Linked DNA regions of Homo sapiens: all the other regions are linked to region 1. Evidence: promoter capture Hi-C in 16 types of primary human blood cells and fetal thymus (Javierre and others, 2016). All regions are on one chromosome and are shown on one strand. The core of a region is centred on a gene start or on the middle of the fragment in contact, and the rest is flanking DNA. Distances in the headings are between cores, read along the strand shown. Region 1 holds the start of COL11A1 (collagen type XI alpha 1 chain). Region 2 has its middle 150 kb from the start of RNPC3-DT. Region 3 overlaps RNPC3-DT (RNPC3 divergent transcript).

The links. Contacts are between HindIII fragments. The CHiCAGO score rates a contact against its expected background, and 5 or more counts as called.
Region 2: a fragment that was not itself captured here is called in contact with the fragment with the promoter of COL11A1 in region 1 in 1 of 17 cell types (megakaryocytes); the score reaches 5.3 in megakaryocytes.
Region 3: a fragment that was not itself captured here is called in contact with the fragment with the promoter of COL11A1 in region 1 in 6 of 17 cell types (M2 macrophages, endothelial precursors, M0 macrophages and 3 more); the score reaches 9.8 in M2 macrophages.

Annotation. Positions count from the first base shown.
Region 1 is chr1:103,106,289-103,111,087 of GRCh38, reverse strand. COL11A1 (collagen type XI alpha 1 chain) reads left to right here and starts at 2,566. Exons shown (of 67, transcript NM_001854.4): 1 at 2,566-3,015. The coding sequence starts at 2,910. The HindIII fragment of the contact is 5,912 bases long and covers 1-3,350 here.
Region 2 is chr1:103,369,976-103,375,118 of GRCh38, reverse strand. No RefSeq gene overlaps it. Among named protein-coding and RNA genes, the nearest start is that of RNPC3-DT, 150 kb to the left of the region's middle. The HindIII fragment of the contact is 1,219 bases long and covers 1,412-2,630 here.
Region 3 is chr1:103,497,441-103,502,476 of GRCh38, reverse strand. All of the region lies in intron 1 of RNPC3-DT (RNPC3 divergent transcript), which reads left to right. Among named protein-coding and RNA genes, the nearest start is that of RNPC3-DT, 26 kb to the left of the region's middle. The HindIII fragment of the contact is 652 bases long and covers 3,437-4,088 here.

The DNA of each region.
Region 1 (4,799 bases), core at 1,317-3,816:
GCCATTGGAAGTTCCCCTGTGTGAAGTTGAAGTTAGCTAAGGTGCCTCTCTTCTGGCTTTCCCCTGCTCCCATTGTTGTTTAGTATTATCCTTTCTTTCACTGAGTTAATCTCCTGTAAATCCATGGGCTGGTTCCTAGGGAGGCTCTAGATCTGGCATCTAGCAACAGACTACAGGGCTTAGATATAATTATTCCTCACCATGAATTTGCTATGTTTCCTTCTAGAGGCATTCATTGAGACCCAGATTATGCCTAGCTGGGCAGTGGCCAGAGGAATTCAGACCACAACGTACAGAGAGCATAAGGTGGTAATAACTCTATTCACCCAAGATGCTTTGCCTGAAAGGACCCTTTCACAGCAGTGAGAAGGTCTGAGTTGTGACCAGAAAGTAGGGACTGCTAGATTGACTGCATCATTTCTCACCTTCTAGAACAGTATCAGGCCCCAGAACTCTCAATAAATTTGAGAGCTATTAAGAGACAATTTGGAACACCATTTGTACATGTTGCTACAAGCACCGTAACTCTCTCTGGCTATTGAATTGATTTAGAATTCTGGCAGCTTCACAAATACGTATTTCTAAACTTGCATTCATTTCACTATTTTACATTTGAGAGAAGATGTAAAAAGTAATTTTTAAAATATCTGAAGAGTCGACAGAAAAATCAGTTTGTACACAAGTTTGGAAACAGCCAATATATACAAATTTTCCATCTGTGAGACGATGAGGGATAATGAAGATGGTAAATACATATATTTTTACTGTAAGGGTCTTAATTTGTAATTGTGCATTTCAGGTTCAAATGCAATATGATATTAAATTATTTTAACCAACAGTTTAAGGTTGTAATCTGAAGAACTAGTTGATGATATTTCTCTGCAGCTGATATGAGGCATCCCAAACATTCTGCCAACAGCATTACAAATGTCAAGTATTTTTTTACCTGTGATCTAAGAGATAGCTTCTTGATAAAGGAGTAGTTCTTTGTTATGGAGAGTGATATTTATATTGAAGGTATTTTCTAGTTGCTTTCTTCAGTTTATATGTCTCTGTTCATGCTGTTATACCCCTATAAGGGCTCAATCTAGTCTTTGATCACCTTTCTTCCAATTTTAAACTGCATGAAGAGATTTGATGTAATCTGATAGATCATGAGGCATATTTTGATGACTAATAGAAAACTGAGTTCCTAAAGATTAGTGGCAGCTGTAGAATTGAACATATGTACCCAGTAAACTTAGTTGAGGGCCTTTAAGCATTTAAATGACTTAAATACTCAAAGTAGGCCCTGGCCAATGCTTCTAGTCTTTGTCAACAGAAAAATGTGTTCATTCATCCAACCCATCTCTATTGAGTGGCTAATGTATGCTGGCACCCTGATGGGCACTGTTCCAGAAAATCTTTGAGAGAAACATCTTAGGAATTATTAACGAACAAAAAGGAGTCAATAGAATGGAATGATTTTAACGTGGAAAAAGTGACTTGGGAATCTATATTCCAGGTGTAAGAGGATTACTTTGAGGATGGGTTAAGTAGAGAGGGAATTTAGAAACCTGCCCTCTTCATTACTCTCACTGTGGAGTGACCACGTTTTTGGCTCCCGAGGCTGAGGGCCAGGGCCAGGCCCTTAATGAGGAGCTGTGGGCCGAGCCTCTTGGAGATTTCTGCTAGTTGCTTTCCTCGCCTTTTCTACACACTCCTCAGTACCCCCTCATCCAGGATCAGAACAGAATCAGCTGGAAAATTAAATTACTCACCCTCTTAATGTCAGCTCCCATAAATTTTTTCCTCCTTCTCCCTCAGAGTACAGTTCAACTCTTTTAAGAGGAAAGCCACTGAATGAACCTAGTGCTGAATTTAAACGTTTAAGAGATAAACCTGTCAGTTTCAGATCTCCAAAGAGGACTTCCCTACATGCTCTAGGTTTTGACTTCTAGGGTCCCTCCATTCTATCTTCATTCCTTTCTTCTAATTATTGGGTTAAAAAAATAAAAATAAAAACACTTTTCAGAGTAGGCAGCGCAATGAGTCCACTGGTTCCACGTCTGCCATACGAAGCAGATTTTTGCACAAGGATAAGGTTACCGCTGCCAGCCCAGGACTCCAGCGGTGTGGCCGATCAGGCGCTGGCCTCCTCCCCTCTCCCGCCGACCAGCGAGAGGCTAACAGACGGGTGCAAGTAGACAAGTAGCTGTTTTTATTGAATACAGAAGCTCCTTGAAAACTCCGTGTGCTCCGGGGCTCTCCTGCAATTCCTTTCATTCCCAAAGTGCTGGAGCCAAGCACGCGTCCCCCGTAACTCCCTCCCATTTTTTCTCGGGGATTTGGTAGGCGAGGAGGGAGGAGAGGAGTGGGGAGATGGGGGGTGGTTGGTGGGCTGGGCCTGCTCGGAGTCCTCATTCTTGGGCTGAGGGAGGCGGGGGCGGGCTTGGGGCCGCCCCAGAGTCGTGTGATTGGGTCTGACCCTCAGCCTGCTTGTCAGTTTCGCCCTGGGAGGGGGAGCTGGGAGCAGGGAGGGGAGTGGGCGGAGGAGGGGGCTGCCCGGAGCCACTCGTCCAGCCCACTGACGGCATGAAGCCTTTAGGGGCACACAGTACTCTCAGCTTGTTGGTGGAAGCCCCTCATCTGCCTTCATTCTGAAGGCAGGGCCCGGCAGAGGAAGGATCAGAGGGTCGCGGCCGGAGGGTCCCGGCCGGTGGGGCCAACTCAGAGGGAGAGGAAAGGGCTAGAGACACGAAGAACGCAAACCATCAAATTTAGAAGAAAAAGCCCTTTGACTTTTTCCCCCTCTCCCTCCCCAATGGCTGTGTAGCAAACATCCCTGGCGATACCTTGGAAAGGACGAAGTTGGTCTGCAGTCGCAATTTCGTGGGTTGAGTTCACAGTTGTGAGTGCGGGGCTCGGAGATGGAGCCGTGGTCCTCTAGGTGGAAAACGAAACGGTGGCTCTGGGATTTCACCGTAACAACCCTCGCATTGACCTTCCTCTTCCAAGCTAGAGAGGTCAGAGGAGGTAAGAAAAAATGGATTTGGGGAGGTGGGAGATTGCCGTCGGTCCTACTGCTTCTGCGCCCCTCCCCCCACTTTACCCTTCCTCCCCGCTCTTCAAGAAAAAAAAAAAAAAGCAATTCCCTTAAATACAATCCAGATTGTAGCTGCTACCAGGTTGGAATTGGAAACTGGAGAAAGAGATGAATGTAGGCGGGACAATAAAGGGAGACGAGGTAGGTAGCAGGAAAAAAAGATCTGTCAGGAGGAGAGCCTGCTGAAAATGCCCTTCACCACTTTCCAGCCTCTTTGAAAAGAGGAAAAATATTACCTTGAACACAAGGGCAGTTATACAAAGCTTTTGTTTGAGGCACAGTCTTTAGACTGCCCTTGGAACACATCTGGTTTCTTCAGATTCTAACTAATGGGAATATCTTTTTAAGGGTGAGCTGAGGAGAAAATATAAAGGGTATAAAATGAACCTTGATAAAGTTCTTTGTCTGCAACCAAGTGAGAAGCAGGCTGTTTTAGTTTTGGGGATATAAGAGAAACCAGGGGGGTGAATCTAGAAGATTAGGAACACTCTGTGTGTTTGGGGGGCGGGGGAGGGTCAATCTATTTTAAGTGGACAAAAATTGGCAGATTATTAGGAATAGGTTCAAGATAGGGAGAACACTTTCCCCTGAATTTCAGTGACTCCCCCCACCCCACCCCTCCGCTTCTTCTTGCAGGTTGGACGTGCAGTTCTCTTGGAGAATGATGAAAGTCGCCAAGCAAATGGGGTGGGGGCGGAGGACTAGGGATTGGGAGGGAAGGGGAGGGGGTGTGGGTAGGGTGGGAGGAGAGAGGTAAGGAACAGTTCCTACGTGGCACCACCAAATATTCAATGGCCAGACCTGCTCGGAAGTCTGCAACCCTGTCAGTACCCACGGAGGGAGAGCGACTTCACTCCTCCCCTCCGCCTTCTCCCTCCCTCTTTCCCCCGCCCTTTCCCGAAAAGGCATCTGGCTGGAGCGGTCCGTTAGGTGCCTTAGAATCGACTGGCAGGCGAAAGCCTTTGGAGGTCAGGGAGCCCAGACAGCTTAGAGTAGAAAGCAAGCTTTGTGAGGAGTGCAGAAAGAAGCTGGGGGATAGGAAGGAGGGTGACTGACGAGGTTGGGTCAAGGGAGATAAAAATGGTCAAGCCCAAATGCGTAGGCTTTAGCAGAAACTTGAGTGTGGCCCTGGGTCTAGATGCCAAGATCTGAGCTCTCCCTAATGAGAGTCAGCCCTCCCGGAGGCCGATCTCTGAGACCAGGTTATTCCTTCCACACGCTTAGTGGCTTTCAGCTTCCCGAGTAGCAGGCAGCGCTAGATTATTCCCTTGGGTGACTTTTCCTGCTAAATACAGTGAAAGTCCTATTAGGACTATATTTGAATTTTGAAAGGAGTTATTATGTTGATTAATTATGTTGATTCATTCATTTCCACATTTTCAAGGATAGATAAGAGTGTCTTTGAAAGTGAAATCCATCAAAAAGTTTGTATTTTACTTTTGGTACCTGGTCACCGGTTGGATTGGTCAATTCTGTCAGCAGTTCTGCCCTCTGCTGGTTTTGTTTATTATTTAGAATTCCTGCGTCTACCGTGGGACATGAGGCCTCTGTAAGTCCCTCTTAACTACAGTGGTACTGGAAAAGGACCTTTGATTAAGGAAAAATGGATATGCCATTTCTTTTTCAGCATGTCACACACGCATGTAAATGAGAATATTGTAATGGCAGCTATTTATTGAAAATTATAGGAACTGAGAATTTCTTCGGTGATGGA
Region 2 (5,143 bases), core at 772-3,271, 260 kb before region 1:
TTTTCTGGATATTTTGTGTTCAGCATAATAGTTATTTGTGGGAAATACATTTTCTCTGTGATAAACTTGTATCTTCCCTTTCACTTTGATTGCAGTTTTATGAAACTTTCATTAGTTTATATTCAGCATAATTTAATGTTTTTAGTGATTAGCTTTTACTACAATCTGAGGACTTGGGTATTTTGTGGTTGTGGAAAGTATTCTGTCACTATTTCTTTAAAATACAATTGTTTCTCCATCAGATTTTCATTGAATTAATATTAAATAATTTAATTTTTCTTAATCAATCTTACAATTCCCATAGTTGCTCTTTATTTCTCTATGTTGAAAATGTTGGTAAATATTTTTAGACTAATTTTTAAATTAAATTTTATCTTGATTACATAAACTTTATTCTAACTATTGAGCTTTTTTTCAGAAAATAGATTTCATTTTCAATATTTTTGTTGGTTCTTTTTTATATTCTCTATTTTATTTTATATGTACTGCTTTTTAAATTGTTTTTAATAAATGTTATTTCTTTACTTCTCTGACCAACCTAGGCATGCTTTTGAGAAGTCTCCTTTGGAGTGTTACCCACATTCTTTTCATCTGGAATGGGTTGACACTTTGCTAACTTTCTTGGTTACCTTTCTTGGCATTTAATTTTTATATCTAATGAAAATTTTATATTTTGGTTTGGTAATCCATGGGAAATGAAAGATTTTTAGTTTCACATTTGTTTTCTGTTAACTTTCCTCTATTTCTCTCCATATAGAAGATTTGGGGGTTTTGTGTTTTCCTATACTTGTCTTTGTGACCTTACTGAAGTATCAGCTGGTGTAACATTGGTTTGAGTCTCCTGTCTTACTGTAAGATAGCGGAGCCCCAAGAAATGGTTATATAAATAGTGAGTAGTTGATTCAGTTCCTGAGTCATGAGTGTGCGTCTTTTTTTGCTCACTACCCTAGGTACAAATATTCCCTTGAAAATCTAGCCCAAGGCAATGTTTCAGTAGCTTTTTAACGTCTTCTTGTATGACTGAGAATTCTCATAGTAACTCTTGCCTCAAGCAGTGATTTTGACTCTTGCCTTCCATTTCTTATGGATAATTTAAATATTAATTACCACATAGTTATCAAACTATTGGGCAACACTGCCTGCTTCCAGCCTTGAAGGCCATTAGGCCTGTAATTTTCTTCCAGGTTACCATTTTGTGCTTTTACTTCAGATCCATGCTTTATTGCTATTGATATGTGTTTGGAGTAGTAGTATATCTAACCATGCACATAATAGTTTGACCATAATCATCCATTAAATATAATTTAAAATGAGACATATGACATTACAGAAAAGACTGGAAATAAAGATTTTTATCTTATTTCCCAAGGCTCAAAAGCTATCCTGGAATAGTTTAAGAACTAAATAAGCTTCATTTGAAGATAATCTTTGACACTTTTTCTTGAATATTCCATTATTCTTATCCTGATAAGAGTTTTTCGATAGCCCTATTTTTCTTTCTGAAGCCTTTAATTAAAGTGGGTATTGGGTGATCAGGAATTAAGAAAGATAGAACCTTCAGTGGACATTTACAAAAAAATTTATTTCAGCCAGGCTCACGTCTGTAATCCCAGCACTTTGGGAGGTCAAGACAGGTTGATCACCTGTGGTCATGAGTTCAAGACCATCCTGGCCAACATGGCAAAACGCCATGTCTACTAAAAACATAAAAATTAGCTGGCTGTGATGGCACACGCCTGTAATCCCAGCTACTTGGGAGGCTGAGGCAGGTAAATTGCTTGAACCTGGGAGGCAGAGATTGCAGTAAGCCAAGATTGCCCCATTATACTCCAGCTTAGGTAACAGAGTGAGACTCTGTCTCAAAAAAAAAAAAATCCATTTAATTGATTGGAGATGGCTTTAAGTATTGGGCCAGACACTATGTGAATCCTCAAAATACAATGCCTTCTGTTTGTACAAAGCTGACTGTGATATATATTGATTTTGAAACAAAATATTTGTTCATTCCTAAGAGACATTCCAAAATTCCCACAAGATTTAGCTCTTAGGAAATCAAACCACTGTGACAATGAGCCAGTCTACTGTTGCTTTGACTGACCCAGTTTTCCTGTGGAAACAAGGCTTCATCAGATGGTAAAAATAGATAATGCTGCTTGTCAATTAAATACAAATTTTAGTAAAATAATGTGAAATATAAAATGGAAAACTGCATAGTCAAAATTTGAAAGGTCACCTGTGAGGCTCTAGTGATCCAATCTTTTTTAAGTGAATAATAAAATTTTTTGGGGGGGGACAGACTGATTGAAAAGTCTGGTATAAGAAATAGGTGGCTTCAGTTCATAAAGGAGATTAAAGGGTAAGTATTTCTAAAGTTGTAATATTCCACTGACTGCCCAATAGCTTACAATATTATGTAATTCTAGAATAGCTAACATATTAAGTATTTAATACTGGGCACTGCTAATGCTGTTCATGTATTATCTTACTTAATCTTCCAAACAATTCAATGAGGTAGGCATGATATTAATCCGTACTTTAGAGTCTGATAGTTAAAGTGGATAGGTTACTTATCCATAAATGTGCAGTTAGTGTATCATAGATTCAGCCTCGAACCCAAGTTATTCTAAGCTTAGCAATTATTCTAATTTGTGTCTCAATAATTTAATAAATTTCCAATAGACAAAAAAAGTGGTGATATGAAGTTTTGTAAATCTTTCAATTAGGACCAGATTGCAAAATAAAACTTAAAAGCAGGAAGTTCTCAAAAACTGATGGAAATGCATAAAAAAATAGATGAGTCTACTTGAAGGGACTTCCTCTAACCAAATATGAAATATTTTGAACATCAAAATTATAATTACATCAATGGATTAAAATGTAATGAAAAATTGTTACTGGATCCATTATGTTGCTTAAATAAGAGGGAGGAAGGAGGGAAGAAAAGCTTTTGTTTTTTTCTTTTTCTTTACTCTTTTCTTTTTTTTGAGGTAAAGTCTTTCTCCATTGCCCAGGCTGGAGTGCAATGGCATGATCATAGCTCACTGCACTCACAGTCTCCCAAGCTCAAGAGATCCTCCCACCTCAGCTTCCTAGGTAGCCTGGACCACAGATGCACATCACCACACACAGATTATTTTTCAACTTTTTTTGTGGAGACAGGTTCTCTCTTTGTTGCCCAGGCTGGTCTCAAGCTTATGAGTTCAAGCCATTTCCTGCCTCAGCCTCCCAAAATGCTGGAATTATAGGCATGAACCAGCATGCATGGCTAACTTTTCTTAATAGAAGAATGCCAACTAATAAATGTAGAAAGAATGATAGAGATAGAAAATTACCATTTGCAAGTATCATTGTAATAATTGATTCAGTCAAAGGTTACCAATAAACACTGAAATTATTGGATTACAGATTTTGAGAATAAGATATTCATGCAGGGTCAAAGTGTTACTCCACAGATTTCTTGTCAATTATGAAGAGAAGAGGGTCCTTTGCAATGAGATAGTTGATGAACATGACCTTAATCACACGTTCAAAAGTAATGTCATCAATTATTTAGAGAAAAATTCTAAAACTGTGTTTCTCTTCTGCTCTTACACCACCACAGCAATCATCAACATAGAAGACTTATGTGAGCAAATGTCTGGGAATTTTCCTCCACACACCAAGTAGCAGACACCAGCTGGCTGTCCTCCAATTCAATTGCAACACTATCTGGAGATAGTGTTAGATCCCGCAGCCTGAGAGGTCAGCCCCTAGGACTGTTCCCCAAACCCCAGAAATTAGTCTGGGCTTCCAGAACTTCTGATCAACTGGCTGCAAATTGGGGTTCTGGAATTCCATGCCCTCCCTGGGTGTGCCACCCTCCAGGAACCTCCTCATTTTCTGCTATCTGGAAGCCCAGGAACCCAGCCTCTTGGGTTTCGGTGGAAGCTGCATGATGTTAGCATTCTTTACCCCAAGACATAGGGAGGGACCCTCTGTGGAAAGGGTCTTAAAACCCACAGTCAGGGAGGTTGGGTAAAATTGGAGTCCTGCATTGAGGCAGGTGAAAAGGAGGCAGAAGATCAGAGTGATTCTATTTCCTTAAGCCTGCCCCTGAGGCCTAACTACCCAAATTAAAACAGAAGGTTGTAACAAGGGCTATGGAAGTTATGAGCCAGGAACTACGAAAAAAAACAGTGTGTGTGGGCGTACATATAAAATTGTCAGATTTTCCTATTATTGGTATGATGTTATTATATATATATACACATATATGTATATGACATATAAATGTCATATACATATTCACATATGTATATGATATGCATATGTATATAATATGTACATATGCATACATGTATATAATATGTATATACATAACATCATACCAATAATAGGAAGACATGCCAAATTCTGTTACTTTGTTACGATATAAGTATATAATACCTATTATAAAATATTTTTGAAAAAATATTTAATATGTATATAATCAAGAAGAAACAATTATAAAATTCTAGAATGTAATATGATCTACTGAATAACTTGGCCAGACTTAAAAAAAGGGCAATGTCATGGGTAAAAAAAGGAAAAGAAGGAGTAGAAGGAAGAGAGGAAGAAGGAGGAAAAGAAAAGGAGTTGACAGTTCTAGGAGAGTAAAGGGACTTGATAACTTAAATGCAAAGTGATATTTGATTGGATCCCATATAAATGTTAAAATGACCAGAAAAACTATTGAGACAATGGGGAAATTTGAATGTGAACTATTTTATACAATATTAATCAATGCTAAATGTCGCGAGTGTGATGGTATTACCCATGTGCTGAAAAATGTTCTTATTCTTAATAGATACGTGTTGAAATATTTAGGGTGATGGATTATGATATCTGCATCTTACTTTTAAATGGATCAAAAACAGGTGCATCTAATAAAGGGTATGTGAGTATGTATTGTACTGTCTTACTCAACACTTCTGAAGACTTGAAATTTTGCAAAATAAGAAAATGTTGGAACAATAAAAATTTCATATATTTGTATAATTGATTTCATAAACTTATTTGACTTCAATAATGATCTAATGTAATAATGACTGAGGATATTTGGCGAAAAACTATAATTAGTAAAAACTCCTCCCCATTAAGTGGTCATGTCTCTCCTATGAGAGAC
Region 3 (5,036 bases), core at 2,513-5,012, 390 kb before region 1:
AGACACAATGTGTTTTTGTGAATTCAGCCTTACCCTCCAGCTCTTTGCCATCACCATGAGAATAATAATCCTGGCCAGCTATTGGCTCCAGAAGAAGAATGAGAAATGTATGGAGCCGACCCATCCCAGCAAAAATTACAGACATTTTAAAAACATATCTTTCAGAAAACCTTCTGGATTTTCTTTCTTTTTTTCTAGGCTGGAATAGATGCCTCTTTCATATCTTTGTAATTGTTATCTCCATAGCTTTATCACTGAGTTTACCACAATGTACTAAGATTGCTTTTTACTTTGTCATAATCTTTCACCAGACTGACTTCTATAGAGCTGGACATATCTCAAAAATTTTGGAAAAGATATCTGTGCCTTGATACCATAGTAGCCAAATAAGTATCAAATAAATTACTTAATTTACAGTACTAAGTCTAATATGCAAAGTGAAATTACATTCACATTGAAATGATTCAATAAGATCTTATAGTCAATTGACTGACTTGTCCCAGTTTTTACTTCCTTATAATAGTAACATATGTCTACACCTTTGTCATGTGTCAAGGTAGAGGAGGTATTTCAGCTCTTAATTTTGGACTTGGACGTACGCCTTGCAATGGCCTATGGACTATTAGCAAACATGACACAAGTAAAAGCCTGAAAATAATGTAGCAGTTGAGCCTACCCTCGGGCTTATTATTTTCATGTGCAAAACATGTCCTGGGTAGCCCATTAGTCCCATTCGTCCAAGAAAAACAAACCAAGAGAACTTGGATCTAACCTGTAATTTGGAGCCAAGCTCAGCCTAAATCAGCCAGCCTCTAGTAAGCACACACATTTATGAGGGAGAATCAATGGTAGTTATTTTTTGCCTCTCAGTTGCAGGGTGGTTTGTTACAAGAACGATTGTGGCAAGAACTGATACTTATCTATGAAGAGATTTTTTATTCATGTAACTAATGAATAAATCACAGTTTATTTTGTATCCAAAGAGAAATTTTCTAGTGCTTGCAAATTGTCATAATCAAAATGAATCCAGAATGCTTTATTCACAGAGTTAAATTAAATCACCATCACCATATTAACAGATGGATGGCCATAATTTTAATTAATTTTAACTGATAACATTACCTACTTCTTCCTCTAAATATTTATATACGTATACATTCACACATACACATACATACATGTATATATCTACATAATTATTAAACTAAGGTTTAGATATGTGGTCAATACTGCTGCATATGTATGTCCCATCTTCTCTTTTCTCCATTTTTCACATAGTTCCTCACAAGGCCATCTGGACTAAAGAAGAGGGTTTGTAGTTTCCCTTCAAGCTAAGTGAATTTGTGTACTGGACAACAGGATGTCAGAAGACATAATCTCTGCCACTTGTATGTAATACCTTAAAGGAAAGGAAAATGCTGCTTCTTCCTCTTTTACCCTTTTACTATTAGCTAGAATTTGGATAGGTGGTGGTAAGCCATTTAAGAATCGAGATGAGCAAAACACTAGGTAAAAGAAGGCTGACTGATTACTTTGTATAGCACAGCTACCATATTACCTTGGGCCTTTAACTCGTGAGAATAAATGTCTGCCTTGTTTAAGCCATTGCTAATACTGTATATAAAATGTATGTAATAAAAATGCAAGGTATATATCCTGTTCATTTGAATTACTCTAATTAGGTGGCCTAATTTTTTAATTAAATATTTTTAGAAATTATAAAATTAACGTGTGTTAATGCACTTGTTCATTGAGTAAAAAATATAAATTTTACTGTCTGAATTCTCCTCTCTAGGAATTGTCATGAATTTGGTACTATTATTGCCTTGCCAGACTAGGCTAGTTGTCTTTACCCTACTCCCAACTGTGTAAGGCATTATATGTCAAATATTTGTCACCAAAGCCAGTGGTGGCAAGCAATTCAAAGGTTTTTCACTCTCAGGCATAGGCTAACTGAGTTTGGAGACCACAAATGAGAAGAAGGGAGAGGAGGAGAGGAAAGGAGAGAATAGGGGAGGGGAGAAGACGGAAGAAATGTATGATAGAATACTATCTGCTGCATTTTTGAGGGCTGATGGTGAACTAATATTGTGTGTCTTTTCCTAGTAGGAGTGGGCATTGGAGATTGAAGCTGAGATCAATGGCAGACAGGGCAGCATGGCTTGCACATGATTTATCTGTTCGGCATAGCAGAAGTGATTGAAACAGGGATGGGTACTTGACAATTGTTTTTGCTTGTTTTTTTCTGGTAGTGACTTATTTCACTCAGCTCTTTCTCATATGTGGATATAATTCTACTTCAAATTTTGAAGTTGCACTAAAATTGGTTACATTTAAGGAGGGTTGTAGAGGCTGGGCCACATAGCCTAAATATATGATCAAACCTTATTCCAGATGCTTTTGTGAGAGTGTTTCTGCATAATAGCAACGTTTAAATCTGTGGATTTTGAGTAAAGCAGATTGCCCTTTGTAATGTACATGGGCCTTATTCAATCAGTTGAAGGCCTGAACAGAATGTTGATCTACAACACACACACACCACGCACACACTCTCACACACACACAAACATATACATATCTTATTGGTTCTCCTTCTCTGGAGAACCTTGATATATAGGGGGCATACCAAAGTTACTAAATATGAAATATGTTCATATGCATTTTCTAGAAGAAACTTATATTCTACATAAAAGTAAAGTGATGATTGTGATGAAAATGATAATTGCTACTAGATACTTAGATTATAATTCACTTTAAGAATTCACAGTGTTATATTGTCATTAACTTAGTACCTTCCATCTATCCTGGCTCTTATGTGTTATTTATTAATTTATCACACAAAGCTATTGTGTATAGTGAACTAGTTGAACCATAAATAAAACAGTTTACCATAACAAGTAAACAGGAATGTTTACCCAGTAAGTTTTACCTTCAGTTTTGTCTGCAACCAGTGGAAAATGCTGTCTTGTATTAATGAATAGATTCAGTGAGGCTAGCCAAAGCACCTGCCAAAACACCTTTAAAATGTTTCTTTTAAGGAAGTTAAAAAAATTCGTGTTCAAAATGTTAACTCAAAGTATTCAGGGAACAAGCACATACCTTGTGTTAACCAGTATTTATATGAAGTGGGAGTTCAAATTACTGAGGCTTAATTTTGTGAAGGTAGCTGGAACATATAAATAACTTTGGGGTAAGGTGTTTGGATAAGGCACTACTCAAGTAAAGACCTTCTTTCTTTCTTTCCTTTTTTTTTTTTTTTTTTTTTTTACTTAATGAAGTATCTTTCTAAGTTTCCTTTTAGAAAGATGCTTTCTAAAAGGGTGTGGATGCTTTTCTAATATACCATGGATAACAGGAAATGACAACAATAATGATAGCAGATACTTATAAATGTGTGGGTCAAAAATGAATATTCTTCGAGTTTTAGGTGGAAGCTTACTCAAGATGAGATACTCCATGAAAATCTTTTCCCAAATATTTGGGTCTTCCATATTGATACCCATCCTTACCACCTGTCTCACAGGGAAAGATGACTTAGGTAAATACCTTTCTTATGCTTTAAATTCCATCCACTCCCATTTCATCAAGGATATTGTTTCACAGATTACCATTATTTTTTCTTGGCTTCATTTTCTCGCTCTTTGCTGTCTCCTTCTCTTCAAAAAATAAATGCATGTATTCAATTTCTCCTGTATTGAAAATATCTCCCTTAGTTCTGTGTACCCCAGCTACACTCATGTCTTCACCTCCCAACCACCCTTTTTGTCAGGGCTGTACAGGTTTGCTCTCTCCAAGAATTTATTTAGTCATCCAGAAATATTTCTAAGCCAAGCCTTAGGGATTGGTCTTTGTATACATTATAAAATTTAATTCTTAAGTGTCTGACAAAATACATGTAGATATTTCCTATTCCTAATTTATAGATGTGAAAACTGAGACTGAGAGAGGCTGAAGGATATGCTGAAGGCAACTGGAATCCAAAGCCTGCCCACTAGAATGTGGATATTGTCATCCTCGCCTAAAATGTTCAACTGGTGCTCATTGATTGGGTGCCTACTGTGTTACTATGTATCAGGCACTATCAAGCTTTCTGCCCATTTTTTTTAAGTCTTTATGACATTCCCTGTGAAACGGGTACTCTCATTAGTCAACTCTGTAATTCTCTCAAATTCAAAATGAAATGGTTTTTTTAAAGTTGTGAATAAAGTGAACACTTCTTTTTTCTTTTTATTTATTCCCCATATTATTTGTTATTTCTGAGCACTCTTTTTGGAGGAAGATGTCTTCGTGGCTTATATATATTTGTAACAGAAAAATTTGAAAAATACTTACATAAAGAAGAATGTAAAAATCAACAATCATCCTACTATTCAGATGATTACCATTACCATTTTACTGTATATATTTTCAATTTGTTTCTGGTACACATTCACACACACAGAATACACACACATACACACACATATTTGGAAAAGTAATATCTTTTTTCCTCACCCATTGCCAGGTACATGGTTGAGACCTTTAGGCATATTAACAAGAGAAAAGCATATACATTTATTTAATGTAAGTTTTACATGACATTAAAATCACATTCATGCCTTTTGGAATGAAGACCCAAATAAACAAGAAAAATCTGTGTATTTTATGGTCAGTCATGGGGAACTATGATTGGAGGACAAAAGGGTATAATCTAGTAAAAAACTGGGGGAAACAGCAAGACATGTTTGTTCAGATTCTTCTTGGCATCTCTGTGCCTTCAGACATTAAGAACATTTCTTTCCTCCAAGTACAGGGAGGATCCTTTTGGAATGAGGGCCTTATTACTCACTTTGGAGGAAGATCAGGTAGGTTTTGCAGTCTGTTGCAGAGGAGCAGATTGGGGGAAGGGGTGCAAGTGCCTCTCTTGCTTCTGCTGTTCCCTCAAATACCAAGGTGCTATATGAGGTAGCATATTCTAAATTCCATCATAAATATGTGGTAGTTTCACAGAATGGCTCTCCTGTTAGGTATTTAACCAGGAGCTCTATTATTGGATT